Linked DNA regions of Homo sapiens: region 1 is linked to region 2. The links are contacts of gene promoters, found by promoter capture Hi-C in blood cells and fetal thymus (Javierre and others, 2016). All regions are on one chromosome and are shown on one strand. Each heading gives the region's core, a stretch centred on a gene start or on the middle of the fragment in contact. The rest is flanking DNA. Distances are from core to core; before and after follow the strand shown.

Region 1 (2,719 bases), core at 199-2,698, 690 kb after region 2:
GGCAGAGGAAGAGGGGGCATCATAGGCAGCAGAAACCACATGGACAAACTCTCTGCCGGAGAATGGGCATGGCCGGGCTGAGGGGTCCCTGGACAGGAACCAGCCTTCCCTATGCACCTGCACCCGTGAGTCTCACAACAGCCCCAACAGGCAAGTGTTATTTTCCTCAATTCTACCAATTAAAAACTGACCTTGGGCAACTGCTTAACCTATCTCTGCCTTACTTTCTTCATCTGTATCTACCTCAGAAAGTTACTATGAGGACTGAATAAGCTCATACATATACAATGCTTGGAGCAGAGGCTGGTACTAGAGCTGGCTTCATGGGCATGAAACCTGTGAACACAGAACCCCATGCTTTCATTTTCCACTTAGTCCTGCCTGGCATAGTATGCAGTTTTTTTAATTTGAGATGGAGTCTCCCTTTGTTGCCCAGGCTTGAGTGCAGTGGCGCGATCTCAGCTCACTGCAACCTCCACCTCCCAGGTTGAAGCAGTTCTCCTGCCTCAGCCTCCTGAGTAGCTGGGATTACAGGTGCGCGCCACCATACCCAGCTAATTTTTGTATTTTTAGTAGAGATGAGGTTTTGCCATTTTGGCCAGCCTGGTCTTGAACCTCTGACTTCCATGATCCACCTGCCTCTGCCTCCCAAAGTGCTGGGAGGATTACAGGCATGAACCACTACGCCTGGCCTGGTATGTGGGTTAAAATGTTAGGTTTTATCATTATCTTAGGTGGAGAATAACAAATCCGATTCAATATATTCATTTTAGAAACGAGGAAACTGAAGCTTAGATAGTTTGTGTGACTTGCAAAAAGTCACGCAGCAAACAAGCTGCAGAATGAAGGGTGGAGATGGAGAGATAGAATTCTCATCTTAGAGGTGAAAGTAGGATAATGACCCAGCTGAGCTTGCTGAGTCCTGCGAGCGTCGCACGCCCCCAGAGACAACATAAGGAGAGAAGTGCAGACAGATTCCTTTGAAGGAGCTTAGAGAAAGAGATGGTAGGGAAAAGAGCATGAACAGTTGTAGAGGTAGGAGGAAAGCTGGCTATTTGGGGAAGCAAAGAAAAGATTCTCAGAGTAAAACGTATTGGTGAAGCCATGGAAACAAGGACTGAGAAAGTCTCTTGGATCTTGGCCACAAAAAGGTTATAGATGAGCTTAGAGAAATGAATTTCAGTAGAGTTAGGGCTAGAAGCCAGGTTCAGAGAGAGAAAACGAGAGAGCATTCCTGGTGGTGGAGATGGCCGCAGGCCATTATTTAAAAAGCTAGGATAAGAAAATAGAGAAGAAAGGGAAGGAAGCTATTTGAAGGGAGTGGGAGAAAAGCCAGATCTCAGTTGGGACGTGGAGGAAGGACCACCAGAGGCAGTAATTTAGCCGGAAAGAGGTGTATTTCTTTCCTTGAGTTTATAGGGGGTAAAGAGGATGGGGCTGAGATACTAAAGACTACGAGGACAACTGTTCATTGAGGGCTGGTCATCTCCCCAGCTGCACTGTGGGGTTCCCAAGTCAGACATCCCAGAGGCAATATAGCAGCGTGGACAAGAGCTTACTCGTTGGAGTCAGACCGCCTAGGTTCAACGATGGGTTAGTTAGCCCTTCAGTGCCTCCATTTTCCTATCTAGAAAATGTGGATAACAATGGTTGTTGTGAAGATTAACAGCCATAATCCACGTAAAGCCCTCAGTACAGTGTATGACACACAGCAAGTGTCCACCAAAGGGTAGTTATTATTAACCATAATCCTGGTTCTCTTGTGAGCTGCCTCCTGTGTGTCTAGCATTGGCCAGCACACATGAGGGGGTCCAGTGTTTGCTGCTTAACTAAGTAGCTTCTCAGGAAGTGTGGTCATAAAAAATGATAGGTGATTTAGAAGGTGAGACAGACACAAGGGATGTGTTGCACAGTAAATGCTCCCAGACATGCAATAAATGCTTATAAGCATGCCCTCTGTAATCAGCCCTCTTTAGAGAGTTTCCCTGCCTCATTGCTCTTGGTCTTTGGCAATGGCTACACCCACTGCCCAAGCAAGCAGTATCAGCTGTCAGCTGTCCCCTTGTCTTTTGGATCAGATTCCTTTACAGGGATCTTCCCATTGTTATAAGCTTCAAGAATTGGAGAATGCTTAATGAACACTTCCAAATTCTTCATAGCTATGAGGGGCCAGTGCAAAGGGCGGAAGGAGTTCTTCTGTGTCACAGAAATTAGAGCTGGAGCAGATCCAGCTTGCTATCCCCCCTTCCCCCAGCTTGTGGGTTATTGCAGAATTGTTCACAAAAATTCCCATTGCCTTGGAATTTGTCCAAGCCGAGGGCAGGGATCACAACACAACCTCTCAAGGGAAAAAAGGAAGGCCTGTTGCTTGAGATGGCTCAGAGCACTTTTGGTAGCCAGCCAAGGCAGCTATCACTCATGAAATCTGCCTTCCCCTCCAGCAAAAAGCCAACTGTATAGAACACCACATATAGAGCGCTAAGAATAGCACAGCGCTCCAAGAACATAGTGCACTTGGCCTGCATACAAGTGTGCAGGGCTTAACGAGTCTTTTTACTCTGAAAGCTGGGTGGGTTGGAACAAACAAACAGAAAAATATTTTCCCCAAGTAGCATGCAGAGAGGAAATGAGAGCAAGCACAAGAGAGCACCCTGGCATAGCATTCTCTGACCTGGGCTGCCTTTTCAGGGTATGAGTTGATTCCGCAGGCACCAAGGCA
Region 2 (2,785 bases), core at 263-2,762:
CCTCCACCTCCTGGGTTCAAGTGATTCTCCTGCCTCAGCCTCCCAAGTAGCTGGGACTACAGGAGCTCGCCACCACGCCCGGCTAATTTTTGTATTTTTAGTAGAGACCGGGTTCACCATGTTGGCCAGGATGGTCTCAATCACTTGACCTTGTGATCCATCCACCTTGGCCTCCCAAGGTGCTGGGATTACAGGCGTGAACCACTGCGCCCGGCCTTCTCTTGTGCTTTCTTCTAAAAGTTTTATATAGTCATAGTAGACACCTTATAAGTGTGCTGGATTAAATGTGAAAATGTATGTAAAGCCCTTAGCACAAGGCCTGGTAGAGACTAAACAATCAGCTGAGCCTAAGATGGACATTGACTATGTAATTTTTATAAGGAGCACCCTCAGGCCCAGCACACATTTCCTCCACACAGATGTTGTGTCCTGTCATCACAGAATGGCAGGATACCAGAGAAGCAAAAGCCTCCACCCATATCCTCATCCAACCTGCTCCTGGAACCAGTGAAGGTGACTGCAGACATAGAGAGGCCATAGAGCTACAGGGCAGCAGGAGAGCCAGCCCTGGAAGGTGGCCCTTCCCCTGCAGGGAGCACTCCTCCATCTAGCCTCCGTTTCCATGAAACCTGGAGGTCTAGCCCAAGCTGTGATGGGGTGATGGGGACTAGGCTCTGTTTACTGAGCACCTACTGTATGCTAGGCCCTTGGGTAAGGCATTGAATAAGTTAGACAACACCTGGGCCTCGGGAGCTCACAGACTAGCAGCAGAAGAGGCCATGAACAAATGATTGCGTAATTAATTGCTAGATTCAGGAAAGGGGCAACGTTCTGGGGTAGGAGGGGATGGGGAAGAGGAAGTCTCAGCCGCCGCCTCTGTGCCAGGCCCCTCCAGGCTGGGGGTGGGAGGGTGCGCGGGCACAGGGACACACATGACGTCATCGTAAGAGGCAGGGGAAGGGTGGTCCTGGGAGGTGGGGGCTGCTCTGGAGGGCTGTAAGAGAGGGTCATTCACTCGTGGTTCATTCATTCGAGAAATATTCATGCGGCGCCTACTGCGTACCAAGCACCCTCTAAGAAGGACGAACACAGCTCCTGCCCTCTCATTATATTTGGGGCCGACAAAGTGGCAGGAAACAGCCAAACAAATCAAGCGTGAAGATGGTTTCAGCAGAGCCGACGGCTCAGAGGGGCTGCGACCGGGGCAGGGGACCGGGGATGCGGGGCAGGGACACGGCCCACACTTGCTGTGCACGCACCGCCCTCCCCCAAACACTTTGCAAAGAGGTCACCGCACTGGCTGCGAGCGCGCCCTGAGCCCCGGGCCGCAGCACGCGCGCCCCCGCGCCCGAGGTCGCGCGCTGCCCAGCCCCCCGCCCGCGCCCCGCGAGCTGCGCCCGCCGCGCACGACGCCCCCTCGCGGGAGCCCTGGGCCGCCGGCCGCGCGCGCAGGGGAGGGGGCGGGGGCGCCGCGCACGCGCACGGGCCGGCGGCGCGCGCCGAGCGGGGGGCACCGCGCGGGTGCAGCCACGATGGAAGGGGGTGCGTACGGAGCGGGCAAAGCCGGGGGCGCCTTCGACCCCTACACCCTGGTCCGGCAGCCGCACACCATCCTGCGCGTCGTGTCTTGGGTAAGGACGGACTGGCCGACGGCTCTGCCAGGCCGGGGTGGTGGGGGTGTGAGCAAAGGCGGCGCGCCCGGACCGACCCCGACCCCGACCCCAACGGGCCCCCGGCGGCGGCGCGGCGGCGGGCGAGGAGCTGTCCTGCCTGCGGGGCCCGCTGCCGCCGCTCCTCCTTCCCGGGCCCGGGGCGGGCGGGATCCCTGGTGCTCGCGGGAGACGCCGCTCCGGCTCCCGGAGCCCTGGTTTCCTGGGGCCCCCGGTTCGTGCGCCCCCCTTCCCGCCCCGATTGCTGTGACCTCCAGGCCGCGGCTATGCCGCGAAAGGCTCGGATTGTGCGCGGCCGCCAGGGCGGACTGGGGACCGTGGGGACGGAGCCAGGGTTTAAGGTGGCCTTTTTTGGGGGGTGGATCAGGGCGTGGACCATCTCGGTGGGGTGCATGCCGCGCCTGCGATGGACGTTGGAGGAGGAGAGGGCCGGGAACCGGGTTCGTATTGCCTAGCCCGGCCCGTGTGGAGCGATGAGTCGGGAACTGAGTACCTCTCTTCCACCCGGGAACTGCCTCTCCTTCTCTGCGTGACCTTGGGCTGGGAGCCACCCAGGAAATGTTCTCGAGAAATGAGGACTTCAATTCCGAGGTGGGGAGTGTCATCTCCTCTCTCATGCCTCAGTTTCCCAATTTATAGACAAGGTGGGCGGAGCCTTCTTGAGGCCCCCTTGGGCTCTGACATTTCATGAACCGGTAACACCCCTCCCACTCAGCATGCACCTGGATGCCCAAGGCGGGTGTCTGGGAGAAAGGTCTGCTCCCACAGTGAAGAGGCCAGGGTGGCCTCCAGCCTAGCTGGGGGGCAGGGTCCTCAGTGCAGAGGGCTGAGTGGGCTCTTGTTCAGACGGGTGGTCAGGGAGAGGATGGGTCAGAGACAGTGAGCACAGAGGGAGGGGTTCAGGTGCCTTGAGTGGCACCTCATGGAAAGAAGCCCTGCTGGGGTCTGGAGAGGGGGTTTCTGGGGCTCCCTGGGTTTGGCTGGCTGTATCCCAGAAACTCCCACTCGAGGTTCTGGCCTCTGCAGGCCTGGGGCCCGTTCCTTGTGGGCTTAGACTAGGAATGGGCTAGACTGTCAGGGACCCCAGGGGCTACCCCAAGGCCAGCTGTGACCTC

What was found. Contacts are between HindIII fragments. The CHiCAGO score rates a contact against its expected background, and 5 or more counts as called.
Region 1: a fragment that was not itself captured here is called in contact with the fragment with the promoter of SYNGR1 in region 2 in 7 of 17 cell types (M0 macrophages, M1 macrophages, total B cells and 4 more); the score reaches 10.0 in M0 macrophages.

The regions. Positions count from the first base shown.
Region 1 is chr22:40,038,716-40,041,434 of GRCh38, forward strand. FAM83F (family with sequence similarity 83 member F) reads left to right here. Exons shown (of 5, transcript NM_138435.4): 5 at 1-2,719. Among named protein-coding and RNA genes, the nearest start is that of TNRC6B-DT, 4.5 kb to the right of the region's middle. The HindIII fragment of the contact is 1,321 bases long and covers 789-2,109 here.
Region 2 is chr22:39,348,479-39,351,263 of GRCh38, forward strand. SYNGR1 (synaptogyrin 1) reads left to right here and starts at 1,513. Exons shown (of 4, transcript NM_004711.5): 1 at 1,513-1,631. The coding sequence starts at 1,533. RefSeq lists a silencer at 1,560-1,719. The HindIII fragment of the contact is 7,483 bases long and covers 1-2,785 here.